Linked DNA regions of Homo sapiens: all the other regions are linked to region 1. The links are contacts of gene promoters, found by promoter capture Hi-C in human tissues and cell types (Jung and others, 2019). All regions are on one chromosome and are shown on one strand. The core of a region is centred on a gene start or on the middle of the fragment in contact, and the rest is flanking DNA. Distances in the headings are between cores, read along the strand shown. Region 1 holds the start of FXYD2 (FXYD domain containing ion transport regulator 2). Region 2 overlaps RNF214 (ring finger protein 214). Region 3 holds the start of UBE4A (ubiquitination factor E4A).

Region 1 (4,665 bases), core at 1,233-3,732:
CACCCATTCCCACATCCTGCAGTGGGGGGCGTGGTGGGGAGGCTCACCCCTCCCTTGGCAACTCCCGAAAGCCAGCCTGCTCAGCGGCCTTGAGAAGAGAGGTGCCCTGGTCAGCACCCCTTCCCTGGAGGCCACCCCACTTACTGAGGAGGATGAGGAGCCCCACGATGAAGGCCAGTCCAGCGAAGATCAGGCCCCCATTGCGAACGGTCTCATAGTCTCCGGAAAGAGAGGGCAAGAGGAGCGGGATGGGTGGTCTCTCCCAGCAGCTGTCTCTCTCCGCAGCCTGCCCGCAGCAGCCCGTGGTAACCAGGGGAGATAAGGGGCACAGAGCATGGACCTGGGGCTGGGAGAGGCCGCTGCTTGGTGGAAGGGGTCCTGAGGGCTCAGGAAGGGTGCGCAGGGGCCCAGGCTTACCATAGTAGAACGGGTCCACGTCCCCCTTGGGGCTGCCGCCTAGGAGAGAGCCAGAGGTGGGATGAGAGGAGTCACCGATGGTGAGCCAGCCACAGGAACAGCTGGAATTCCCTGTCCTTCCCTTCCCAGAGGACCCTCGAGGGTCCAAGCAGGCGAGGGGAGGCTGGGAGCAGGGGTGTTGCTAAAACCATTGCCAGCAGGCTTCTGCTCCAGGCGGCTTCAGACACGCTCAACTGGGGACCAAATACCGAGTGTCCGAGGGGGATCCGTGCTGTCTGGGGGGCCTCTGACCACTCCGGAAGGGTGGCTCTCTCCTGCTCCTTGATTCCTACCATGGTAGAAAAGGCCAGGAGAAGCCTCTCCCATTAGACTCCCAGCGGCCTCTCTCCACAGGACCATTTGGCTATCAGGTGCTTAGCAGCTATTTGGGAAATGCATGAATAAATAAAACAGAACCTTAAAGTTTATCAGACAGAAGGAGGAAGCCGAGCCCAATGTGTAGACTTGTTCAAAGTCCTAATGAAAGCTGAGACAGACCTCCTTTCCTGCGTTACCATCCTCAGGGGAAGCAGATCTAGTTAAGAAACATTAATATATAGTGCTGGTCAGGCACCGGGCAAAAACTAACAAACCCTAACTCATCTAACCATTATGGCAACCTTATGAGGCGTCAATGTCATTCTGGTGTAATCCACAAGAGGGTGGAAGTGCAGAGAAGAAATTCCCCCACAGTTATACAGCAAGTCAGGGGTAGAGCTGGTGTTTGAACCCAGGAAGCAGGGGGCTGAGAATGGAGGTGCATAAGCCCTTTGATCTGCCACCTCTCAATGGCGGGAGGGAAGGAGCCCGTTAGAGGTAAGGTCCTGCCCCTGCCTCTGGTGGCCTCCCCCGGATTTGGAGCCGCTCAGCAGGCAGGTCTCACAGTGGTGCCCTGCAACTGAGTACACTTGCCCCGGACAGCCAGACGGTGGCCTGGCCAGGACGCTTCTGCCACAGCTAAGGGCCGCTACTCTTTCCTGCCCTGCCGGAGCCCCTTCTCGCACGAGGGAAGTGGAGCCCGAGGAGGAAGGAACGCGCAAGTTAGCACTTTCCGGGCTGTGCCAAACTGTGCCCCTGAGCAGCAGTGAGACTTAGGGTCTGTCAAGCCCAGCTGTCCCCAGCGGCCAGTCCCTGGGCCAGGAAAGGACAGGCCAGGAAGAGTCAGTGCCCATCCTGACGGGCCTGAGGTGCTGGGTGCTCAGGGAGGCCATGAAGGACCCAGGTCCCACACAGAAGGCCGTCAGGGCTGTCTTCCCAGATTTGGTTCAGGCCTTGTTTAAGGTCATATGGGGATTTAAGTGTCAGAGCAACAGCTAGACGCCAGCTGAGGCTTCCCCACACGCCCCAGGAAACCTCCTCCTCCGTGGCCACCTGGCCCTGAGCCGCTTGCTGAGACCCTCCCTGCCCAGCACCCTCCCCTTTCTGCATCTGGCTCAAAACCCACCTCTGTCAGCAAGTGCCCCTCTTGGTTTCCAGGCCTGAGTCAGTTCCTGTGACAGGAAGCCTTTGGAGAGTGTGACTTGAACTTGGCGGGCTCTCACCCCAAATCCAGCCTAGGAAGGCTGACCAGAGGGGCCTGCTCCTTCCCCAGCCAGATGGACGCCGTCTGCCTCCCGCCCAAGTTCAGACGGTCTAGCAAGATGCATTGAACTCAGGGCGGGTGTGTGCCAGGAGGCCGAGGAGGAACGCTCAGCTCTCCAGCTTCTATCTGCTGCCTTTCTGCCACTCAAGCTATCTTTCTTTGGGGTTAAAGCAGGGTCCTCCTTTAAGTTGCAAATTTTCTTAGAGAGGAGGCCGACAGGAAGAGGGGCTGGGTACTCTGGAAGGCTGAGGTGGCAGGAGAGGGAAGAGTAGGGTCCAGCTGACCCCACAAAGGCAGGCCAATCAGAGCCACCCAGCATTGCACACGCCCGGGCACGCACACCAGCACACTCACCACCGTCCATCGACAACCCAGTCATTTCCCCAGGTGAATGGGCTGCCTCCACTCCCCTCTTCCTGCTGTCTCTGCTTTTTGGAGAGTGTCTGGCTGCCTCCACGGGGTGGCCGGGGACGAGGTGCGGGCATTAAACATTAACAGTGCCAGGTAATATTTACCCTGGTCACAAGAAAAGCTGCAGTGTGGATGGAGGGGCTCCTTCTGCAGGGTGAGGACGTGCGTGGGGAGGCAGGGGCAGGGAGGAGCTGGCTGAGTTTCCAAACCTTCCCAAAGGAAATTTCCAAAGAGAAGGGTTGGGATGGGTCAGCAGTCGTGCTGTTCTGCCAGCTGGGGAAGCTACAGCTGGGGCGGTGGGAACAGGAAAGTGGAAGTTGCACAATCTCTTCAGTGTACACTGTACTTGGGAGTTTCTGGGGGCAGTGGCCCACAGTGGCCCCCAGCCCAGGCAGGGCCCACCGCACCAGCCACCATGGATGCCGCCGCTGCAGCTGGTGTTCCTTATGTGGTACTGGAGGCTTTCCTGCAGTGGTCCCTAGGAGCCTGGCCCACTGCTCCCCCACCACATCCCTGGAGCACCGCCAAAGCTGACCAGCAGTAGATCCTCCAGAAGGGCCCTTCATCTGTCATCCTATTCACCCATCAACGTGCACCCTGCAGGTTACACCTCATTCAGAAGGGCTTCAGTCATCCCCAACTAATTTCTCCTTCCCTGCCGCCCTGGCACTTCCTCCTACCACCATTTGGCCTGGCTCTCGGATTGTGTCCTTGCCAGTTTACCATGGAGCATGCAGGATCCTTAAGGACAGGGCAAGACTTTCATCGTGGGGAAAACCCCCTGCGTTTATGGTTTACCAAGCACTTTCCTCACTGTTTTTTCTCCTCAAGCTTTATGTTTCCCATTTTACTGATGAGGCAGGTGTCTAAGGCACAGAGAGGTAGGGGCCTTGCCCAGGGTCACACAGCCAGTGTGGGGGAAGTGGAGACTGACAATCAGGCCTCCTGCTGCAGGAGGCAGATGCTTTCCACACCTCGCAGGCAGCCTCCCCACTCCGCTGTGACCTCCTTCGCCCCAGGACTCCTGTGCCGGGTAGTCACAGGTACTGTAGAATCCTCGTTGAGTTCTAGTCCATTGAATTGGCCTCCAGAAAAGGCTGAAGCCCAATGGCCACAAAACAGCCAAGGTCAGTGGCCAGCGGACAGCAGGGGAGCTTGAGCCCTTCTGAAGGGAGCCACTGTATCCATGAATCCTCCCCAAGCAGGGGCAGGGCTTGGCACTTGAGTTCACACCCTGGCCCTCTCACTTGCTAATGGTGTGGTCTCAGTCAATGACTTCACCTCTCTGTGCCTCAGTCTCCTCATCTGTAAAATGGGCGCAGTACCCAGCTCCTAGGGTGGTGGTGAGGGGAAGTGAGATAATGCATGCAAAGAGCATATCCCAGGGCCTGGCACACGGTGAGTGGCATCATTTTTACTGTTATATGTGTGTTGATTGAAGAAATGACAAGCATTAGCCTTTGGCAAATGTTTGCTGTTGGACATGGAAAAGCCAGCCACCCTCCAATGAAAATGGGCACGAATGAGTGAGACGGAGAGAATGGCATGGCCCTGCAGATCAGGCGCTGCAATACCCGTTCAGCTCCCTTCTGCTTCTGGAGCCAAGAAATATATATTCGTGCAAACATCACAGCAGAGCCAGCGTTTGGTGAAGATGGACCACGTGCCAGGCTCTTGGAATGCACTGCATCACTTAATTCCTACTAATGGCGTTTTACAGATAAAGAAACTTGAGGCTGCTCATTTGCTTTCCACAATAGCCCCTGGACGTGGCCAGGGCACTGGGTACACCAGAAAAAACGAGGGCAGGAAGGTGAAGGGACTTGCCTGAAACACACAGTTAATGGCAAACTGGAGGTAGAAAGCCCAGATCCTCCAAGATGTGCTACCAAAGCTACTGCCATCTCCACACAAGACAAGGGTGCTCCCTTTATTATACAGGATTGTGTTATCTTATTGCATTTGGTCTGTATTTGTAAGCCTCCATGGAGTCTTTCGGGAATAATAAGAGATGTAAAAATAAGTGGGAAGTTAAATAAATTCATCTGTCTGTCTGTCTGTCTGTCTGTCTATCTATCTATCTATCTATCTATCTATCTATCTATCTATCTATCTGTCTATCTATCTATCTATCCATTGACAACCCAGTCATTTCCCCACCCAAATGGACTGTCTCCACTTGCCTCTTCCTGCTGTCTTTGCTCCTTGGTGGGGTG
Region 2 (4,665 bases), core at 1,436-3,935, 580 kb before region 1:
TTCAGCAAAGGAGAGAAGAGGAAATGAAGAATCACCAGGTATTTTGCTTATATTGAAATTGTCAATGAGTTAAGCAACAGTCTCTGATCAAACTTTAATTTTTTAAAAAACTTTATTTATTTATTTATTTATTTTTGAGACAGAGTCTCACTCTGTCACTCAGGCTGGAATGTGGTAGCATAATCTTGGCTCACTGCAGCCTCTGTCTCCTGGGCTTAAGTGATCTTCCCACCTCAGCCTCCCAAGTAGCTGGGAACACAGGTGTGTGCCACTATGCCTGGCTCATTTTTTGTATTTTTGGTAGAGACGGGGTTTTGTCATGTTGCCCAGGCTGGTCTTGAACTCCAGACTCAAGAAATCCACCCGCCTTGGCCTCCGAAAGGAGGCCTTTTTATTTCAGTTAACTCAAAAATAAAATTAAAGTTTGAGCCATCCATGCCCGGCTCAAACTTTAATTTTATTTTTGAGTTAATTGAAATAAAAAGGCAAGGCGGGGTGTGGTGGCTCACACCTGTAATCCCAACACTTTGAGAGGTTGAGGCGGGTGGATCAGTTGGGTCCAGGAGTTCGAACCAGCCTGGGCAACATGGCAAAATCCCATCTTTACCAAAAATACAAAAAATGAGCCGGGCGTGGTGGTGTGCACCTGTGGTCCCAGCTACATGGGAGGCTGAGGTGGGAGGATCGCTTAAACCCAGGAGGCAGAGGTTGCAGTGAGCCGAAATTGTGCCACTGCACTCCAGCCTGAGTGACAGAACGATACCCTGTCTCAAAAAAAGTATTAATACTCATAGACTTTTTTTTTTTTTTGAGACGGAGTCTCGCTCTGTCACCCAGGCTGGAGTGCAATGGCACAATCTCGGCTCACTGCAAGCTCCGCCTCCTGGATTCACGCCATTCTCCTGCCTCAGCCTCCCAAGTAGCTGGGACTACAGGCGCCCGCCACTACGCCCGGCTAATTTTTTGTATTTTTTTTAATAGAGACGGGGTTTCACCATGTTAGCCAGGATGGTCTCGATCTCCTGACCTCATGATCCACCTGCCTCGGCCCCCCAAAGTGCTGGGATTACAGGCGTGAGCCACTGCGCCAGACCACTCATAGACTTTTAATAAAGAATGTTCGGATAAATTAGATACATCCATATGTTATGCAGCTATTTTTGAATTAGATCGATACTTATTGACAATACATTCATGTCAAGTAAAAGAAATCAGAATGCAAAATAATGTATGTAAAATGACCCCATTTAAAAATAACAACAACAACAACAACAAAGAAATGCATACCTAAGTATACATGTCTTTGTGTGAGCATAGAGAAAGATGTGAAAGCATAATACAAAGCAGTTAACACATTGATTACTCTTATGGGTGGAAGTGGTATGAAGTGGGGGAGTGACTCTTTATCACCTTTGTATTATTTTACTTTTTTTTTGATACTGGATCTTGTTTTGTTGCCCAGACTGGAGTGTAGTGGGTACAATCAAGGCTCACCGTATCTTTGACTTTCTGGGCTCGAGCTATCCTTCCACCTCAGCCTCTCGAGTATCTGGACTACAGGCATGTGCCACCACACCTGGCTAATTTTTTTTATTTTTTGTGAGACAAGATCTCTGTATGTTGCCTAGGCTGGACTCGAACTCCCGGACACAGTGATCCTCCTGCCTTGGGTTCCCAAAGTACAAGGATTATAGGCATGAGCTACTGTGCCTGGCCTGTTTGACTTCTTATTTAAAAAAAAAAAAAAGTGTGCGTTTGTACATATGTATATCTGTGTGTATATGTGTGTGTGTATATATGTATGTATTTGTTGTTGTTAAAGAGTAAAACAAACAAAACCCATACATAATAAAGTAGAATCACAACAAAATGAAACAAGACAATATTTGTTGGATGTAACAGACCCTCCCTGGTACAAGAACACCTTTCTCAGCATTCTTGACAGGTGTTCATTCAGCCTTTATTTGAACACCAGTAATGAAGAGCTTACTGCTTCACAAGGCAGTATATTTCATTTTTGAACAATTGCGATTGCTAGAAATTATTTTTCCTGTTGAGTTGAAATCTGCATTACTATAACTTTCTCCTTTAGGTCTGAATACTGGCTTTTGGAGCTACTCATCAACCACATTCTTTCAATTCAATTTGAATTCACTAAAGTCAATACGTGAATTTGTGATAGTTGAAAATAACCTTTGCATCAAAAGAACTAACTTATTTTCTTTTTTATTTGTGTGCGACTGTAATTGTGTGGAACTCAGGAGATATTAAAGGCTATTCAGGATGTGACAATAAAGCGGGAAGAAACAAAGAAGAAGATAGAGAAAGAGAAGAAGGAGTTTTTGCAGAAGGAGCAGGATCTGAAAGCTGAAATTGAGAAGCTTTGTGAGAAGGGCAGAAGGTAACTGATGTTAAGAATAAAAACCCTGTGTGTATGTATATATGCATGAGGGGCCAGACCCGTTTGTATTTGTAGTTTCTTTCCCTTCGGTTTAATTTTTATTTGAAAAACAAGTGTACAAGTAAAAACTCTCCAATGACTTTAGCTTTTTCAGTATCAAACATTAGACTTAATAGAAAAAAGTTCAGAGATTTATTAAATACTTTGAAATAATAACAGTTAATTGTTGAGTCCCAAGTGTGGTCAAGAGTTCGATACGGGCTGGACGTAGCGGCTCACACCTATAATCCCAGCGCTTTGGGACACCAAGGTGGGAAGATTGCTTGAGGCCAGGAGTTTGAGACCAGCCTGAGCAACCTAGCAAGACCCCCTCTCTACAAAAAATATTAAAAAAAAATTAGCTGGTTGTGGTGGCACGTGGCTGTAGTCCTAGCTACTTGGGAGGCTGAGGTGGAAGAATCACTTGAGCCCAGGAGTTCCAGGCTGCAGTCAGCTGTGATTACGCCACTGCACTCCAGCTTGGGTGACAGAGCAAGACCTTGTCTCTTAAAAAAAAATTTTTTTTATATGAATCTAACACCGATCTCACTTTATAACCTGATATTTACAAGTTCAGACCATGGGACAGGCACAGTGGCTCACGCCTGTAATCCCAGCACCTTGGGAGGCCGAGGCAGGTGGATCACGAGGTCAGGAGATCGAGACCATCCTGGCCAATATGGTGAAACCCCATCTCTACTAAAATACACAAAATTAGCCAGGCGTGGCGGCGTGCACCTGTAGTCTCAGCTACTCGGGAAGCTGAGGCAGGGGAATCGCTTGAATCCAGGAGGCAGGAGGCGGAGGTTGCAGTGAGCTGAGATCGTGCCACTGGACTTCAGCCTGGCAACAGAGTGAGACCCTGTCTCAAAAAAAAAAAAAAACAAAACAAAAAAAAACAAAGTTCAGACCATGAGCATATTTTGAATGATTACATTTGTGTTATTCAGCATCCAAAGTAAATTTCAAACAGTAACATTGTAAGCTGTTTGTGAAAGAATTATTTAGAGGATTTGTGTCCTTTTCTGGGTACTGCAGAAAAAGCAAAGTGGGCATAGAATTTGGTCAGCTTCTCAATTTTCTAAGTTTCTTTTTTTTCTTTTTTTGAGACGGAGTCTTGCTCTGTTCCCCAGGCTGGAGTGCAGTGGCACGATCTCAGCTCACTGCAAGCTCCACCTCCCGGGTTCACGCCATTCTCCTGCCTCAGCCTCCTGAGTAGCTGGGACTACAGGCGCCCGCCACCATGCCTGGCTAACATTTTTGTATTTTTAGGAGAGACGGGGTTTCACCGTGTTAGCCAGGATGGTCTCGATCTCCTGACCTCATGATCCGCCTGCCTCGGCCTCCCAAAGTGCTGGGATTACAGGCATGAGCCACCGCGCCCAGCCAATTTTCTAAGTTTCTTAAAATGACCTGTTTGGAAATCATAATAGCTGTGAATACTCGGTTGATTTTATTTAAATTCTACCAAAATGTTTTTTGTTTATCAAAAAAATTTTGGCTTTTGCTAATGCGTCAGACTGCTGAGTTAGCAAGCTCATGTGCTGAATCATTTTCTGAGTCTCCAAGATAATAATTGTGAAGCTCAACATGAGGAATTGTGTTTGAGAGAGGGCTTGTAGACCAATCAGTTGTTCTGTTGAGAATCTAGTGATACTGAATGATTAGAAGGTGGGTCAGTTGTCTATAATGATAATTTTCCAGAAATTATGAGGAGTGTACCTGGAATAGAACATTATCCCAGCCACTGTTAGTGATCAAAGCAGTTGCTCCCACCCCATGACATGGTCTCTGCCATTGTCTTCACAATCTGTGTGAGGAAGATGACCATAGGCATGTAGCAACTTAACAGGAGATATTAAAGTGCAGAAACTGGGAAGATGAGTCTATAATGTTATTCTAAGCCCCGCAGAAAATTTCCTTTTGATGTGTGTTCTTTACATTCTTTTTTTTTTTGAGACAGTCTTGCTCTGTTGCCCAGGCTGGAGTGCAGTGGCGCAATCTCGGCTCATGCAAGCTCCACCTCCCGGGTTCAAGTGATTCTTTTGCCTCAGTCACCTGAGTATCTGGGATTACAGGCGAGTGCCATCATGCCCAGATAATTTTTTAAATTTTTTTATAGAGATGAGAATCTCACTCGTTGACCAGGCTAATCTCAAACTTCTGGCTTCAAGCGATCCACCTGCCTTGGCCTCCCAAAGTGCTGGGATTACAGGTGTGAGCTA
Region 3 (4,665 bases), core at 1,263-3,762, 530 kb after region 1:
GTAGTAACCAACTTTAAATACAGATAGTTACCCAGCTATTCCAGAAATATTATTGAATGATTCATTTTGCGTCCATTAATTTTAAATGCTGTTACAACCCCACTCGCCAGATTATAAGCTCCAAGAAGGAAAACACTTACGTTTTTTCACTATGGTATCCTTAGGAACTAGAACAGTGGTAGGCACACAAAGATTGCCCAGGGCTTTTTGTGTGTGTGTGGTAAAAGATATGTAACCTAAAATTTACCATTTTAACCTTTTTTTTTTTTTTTTTTGAGACAGAGTCTCACTCTGTCATCCAGGCACTCTAGCGCAGTGGCACGATCTCGGCTCACTGCAACCTCTGCCTCCCAAGTTCAAGCGATTCTCCTGCCTCAGCCTCCCAAGTAGCTGAGATTACAGGCGCACATCCACATGATCAGCTAATTTTTGTATTCTTAGTAGAGACAGGGTTTCACCATGTTGACCAGGCTGGTCTTGAACTCCTGACTTCAAGTGATCTGTCCACCTCGGCTTCCCATAGTGCTGGAATTACAGGCATGAGCCACTGCACCCAACCCCATTTTAACTATTTTTAAGTGTACCATTCAATGGCATTAAATATATCCACAATGTGTAGCCATCATCACTACCCATTTCAGAAATTTTTCATCCTCCTAAACAGAAACTTGGTACCCATTAGACAATAACTCCCATTCGCCTCTCCCTCCAATCCCTGGTGACCTCTATTATACTTTCTCTCTCAAGGAATGTGCCTATTCTGTGTACCACATATAAACTGAATCATACACTATTTAGTCCTTTCTGTCTGGCTCGTTTCAGTTAGCATAACGTTTTCAAGGTTCATCAATGTTTCAGCGTGTATCAGAACTTCATTCTTTTTCAAGGCTGAATAAGTCATCTGTAGCTATATACCATATTTTGTTTATGCATTCATCTGTTAATGAACATTCTGGGTTATTTCTACCTTTTGGTTATTATGAATAGTGCTACTGTAAATATATGTATACAAGTATCTGAGTTCCTGCTTTCAGTTATTTTGAACATCTATATCAAAGCGGAATTGCTTGATCATGTGGTTATACTATGTTTAACTTTTTGAGGAATCATCAAACTGTTTTTCCAAAAAGTCTGGACTATTTAACATTGCCATCAGCAACGCATACGGTTTCAATTTCTCCACATCTGCCAACAATTACTTTCCTTTTTTTTTATAGTAGCCATCCTAGTAGGTATTAAGTGGTATCTCATGATTTTTTTTTTCATTTCCCTAAAGACTAGTGGTGTTGAGCACTCTTTCATATGCTTATCCACCATTTGTACAGTTGGCCTTCCATATCTGTGGGCTCTGCATCTGTGGCTTCAACCAACCATGAATTGGAAATATTCCAAAACAAATTTCATCTGTATTGAACATGTACAGACTTTTTGTCATTATTCCCTAAACAATACAACACTATTTAGATTTATGTTGTATTAGGTATTATAAGTGATCTAGAGATGACTTAGTCATCTCTAGGATGACACAGGAGGATGTGCATAGGTTATATGCAAATACTGCATCATTTTATGTAAGGAACTTGAGCATCCTTGGATTTTGGTACCCAAGGGGGTCCTGAAACAAATCCCCCACAGATACCAAGTGGATAGTCATTCTCTTGGAATGTATCTTCTTTGGAGAAATGTCTATTCAAGTCCTTTGCCCTTTTTTGAACTGAACTGTTTGGGGGTTTTTCGTTCTTGTAGTTCTTTACATATTCTAGAGATGAATCCTTTATCAGATATATGAGTTGCAACTATTTTCTCTCAATCTGTGAATTTTCACTTGCACAGCGCTTTTAACTCTTGAAAATTATGCTGCTTCTATTATTTATGTGTATCCCGATCTCTTGCCCTCGTGACCCGCCCGTCTCAGCCTCCCAAAGTGCTGGGACTACAAGGCGTGAGCCACTGTGCCTGGCCATCTATGTGTATCTCAAAACAACCTTGTAGGATGTATACTGTCTCCACTTTACAGATAAGAAAACTGAAATCCAATCAAAGATAGCACACTCCAAAGATTGCTCCAAAGACAGCACAACAATAACAAACTTGTAGTTGTTATTGCTGTTAGTGTTATCCCTTTGAATAATAGAGAGTAACAGAAGCTGCTTCAAAAAGGTCTAGGACTGGTGGGAAAATAAGAGAGCAGACCCCCAACAGAGGTTGCGAGCAGAGCCAGGGATCACAGAGTTTTATCTGCCCTCGGTACGCTGATTTCCAAAACCCAGCCTCATATTCTATACTCCAAAGCGCACTGCCAGGTGGGCCAACTCCAGCCCCCACAATCCGATGCCAAGGCCACTTCTTGCCACTTCCTGCCCGCCTCCAGCCCGCCCCTAACAAGCTAGCGCATGCGCTGTAGGACTATTTGCGCGCCGTTCCCCCCGGTGAGCCTGCACACCGTGCTTCCGGCGCGGAGATGAACTTCCACATGCCCCGGCGCTTGTTGATGACGTAACTTCCGGTTGCTGTGCTGAGTCGGAAGTGGGAACCCTTCGGCCGCTGAGATTCTGTCGTGTCGTCGCTGCTGGCACTTCAGGCTCTGGTAAGACAGGCAATAGCTTCAGGGGACGGGGTCGTTGACTTTGCGTTGTGATATTTTCTGCTGGTCCAATGCCACTTCAAGCCTGTTCACTCTTATCTTCTCCAAATTCCTTCTCCTATGCTTTGCTAACCAGGGACCTTCTCCTTCTTGAACTTCGACCCTGTCTGATTTGGAACCCCTTACAGTGCCCCAGCTTCTGATGTCTCTTTGTACATTTCTGTCCCCATCTTTGCCAAGCCCCTCCTGGAAGAGGCCGGAGCGCTATCATTGCATTATCTTTTGACTTAACTTTCTCTAGAACGTGCCCCGGGCGGGTGGATCTCCCTCCTTCCCGCGAATCCCTTATGGAGCATGGAAGGATAAAATATAAAGAGTAGATAACAAATAGGCAGATGCCAAGAAGATAAGATTAATCGTGAGTCGTAAGCAAACCAGTTCAATGCATACGTCAGGGTGTTGATAATTCTTAAGGCAGGTGATGAGTTCACCACAGATAACTCTTGGGGCACTCTGCTTCATGTTTCCTTGGGTTTAGAAGACACTTCTAAAATTGAGTGACCATGCCTCATGACCTTATATTTGATGAGCCTTCCTTTTAGGATCAGTTTTATGCCCTGACAGCAAGCATGTGTTTAGTCTCGCTGTCATTTACTGTTTTGGTCTCACGTGGAAGCCCACCTGCGATAAAATGGGATCCAAGAAGGACTGCTGTCTGCTTTTTGACTTGAGATCCTTCTAGGCTGCAGATAGATGTGTTGATGGAATTTGTTGCCACATTAGCATGGCCTGATAGTGTTAGGTGAAACATACGACAACGAAAATTGTTTCTTAATTTCTATTTTAAATTGATATTTTAATTTCTATTTTATATTGATATATGTATTATTTGCCAGGACACAGACCTTATGGGAGTATGATTTGATAGAGCTTGATTTTGACGATCCCAGTTTTACAAAGTGTTCCAGATATTTCTGTTGAAAAACAATACCAAGTCTGATGTTAACACACTTGTGTGTTCATGAGAGCTGACAGTGGTCTTAAAGGATTAGTGGTACTATTCATAAACAAAAGCTTGTATTAGGAGGAAGTGACAGAATTTTGTAGGACAGCTATTATAGATATAGATCTTTGCAGCAAGTGTATCAGAGTGAAACTTGTTTTCAAGGAGGATATATTTTAAAAGAATCAAATCCAAAAGCTTCTAAGGTTGGTAGCTGTACCATCCCAAAGTGTCTGACAACAGGATAGTGTTGTATCTCTGTATGGCAGTTGAAAATAGGAAAAAAAATACATACATATATGTATGTATATATGTGTGTGTGTGTGTGTGTGTATTTTTTTTTTTTTTTTTTTGAGACAGAGTCTGGCTCTGTCACCCAGGCTCTGCTCTGGAGTGCAGTGGCACGATCTCAGCTCACGGCAACCTCCATCTCCCAGTTTAAAAGTGATTCTCCTGCCTCAGCCTCCCAAGTAGTGGGATTACAGCCTGGCTAAGGTGTGGTGGTATGCGCCTGTAATCGCTTTTAGTGGAGACGGGGTTTCACCACATTGGCCAGGCTGGTCTCAAACTCCTGACTTCAAGTGATCTGTCTGCCTTGGCCTCCCAAAGTGCTGGGATTACAGGCATGACCTACTGCGCCCGGCGCTGAAAATAGGAGATTATAAATCCCGAATGACATTATTGAATATTAAACAAAATATTTAGGTTTCATTTTATCGGACCTTTAGAGTGGGTGATTATCTGGGTACTCTTACTTTGGTAAGTCCATTGAACAAATCTAAACTGGCATCTCCACAAAGGTTCTCATCAAGTGATCAGTCCTCCTTTTTCCTGTAAAATTTTTCTATAAGTGACTACACAGTTTTAGCCCTTTTTTAATGAAAAAAAGTTTGTGCACAGATTTGACATACGTGTGAAAAAGATGAGCTTAGTGAAAGATAGGTGAGAACCTTTTTGTTTTTTACAGATAGTAGAGATGACAACAGAGACTTATTTCCATCCACCATTCTACACATGCCAAGATACCAAAGAACCAGTGTCTAGCCTGGTAGCTTGACCTTCCACTGCAACCTAAGAC

The links. The method cuts DNA at HindIII sites, captures the fragments that hold promoters and counts their contacts. A contact is called where the count stands out against the background at its distance.
Region 2: a contact is called between a fragment that was not itself captured here and the fragment with the promoter of FXYD2 in region 1, in 1 of the 25 tissues and cell types used here (dorsolateral prefrontal cortex).
Region 3: the fragment with the promoter of UBE4A here is called in contact with the fragment with the promoter of FXYD2 in region 1 in 1 of the 25 tissues and cell types used here (psoas muscle).

The regions. Positions count from the first base shown.
Region 1 is chr11:117,822,262-117,826,926 of GRCh38, forward strand. FXYD2 (FXYD domain containing ion transport regulator 2) reads right to left here and starts at 2,483. Exons shown (of 6, transcript NM_001680.5): 1 at 2,393-2,483; 2 at 418-456; 3 at 145-219. The coding sequence starts at 2,417. FXYD6-FXYD2 (FXYD6-FXYD2 readthrough) reads right to left here. Exons shown (of 10, transcript NM_001243598.4): 7 at 418-456. RefSeq lists enhancers at 7-560, 2,223-2,776, 2,777-3,329. The HindIII fragment of the contact is 16,763 bases long and covers 129-4,665 here.
Region 2 is chr11:117,244,548-117,249,212 of GRCh38, forward strand. It overlaps RNF214 (ring finger protein 214), which reads left to right. Exons shown (of 15, transcript NM_207343.4): 5 at 1-38; 6 at 2,262-2,401. Among named protein-coding and RNA genes, the nearest start is that of RNF214, 14 kb to the left of the region's middle. The HindIII fragment of the contact is 8,572 bases long and covers 1-4,665 here.
Region 3 is chr11:118,357,088-118,361,752 of GRCh38, forward strand. It overlaps UBE4A (ubiquitination factor E4A), which reads left to right and starts at 2,513. Exons shown (of 20, transcript NM_001204077.2): 1 at 2,513-2,587. RefSeq lists an enhancer at 2,450-2,519. The HindIII fragment of the contact is 8,022 bases long and covers 1-4,665 here.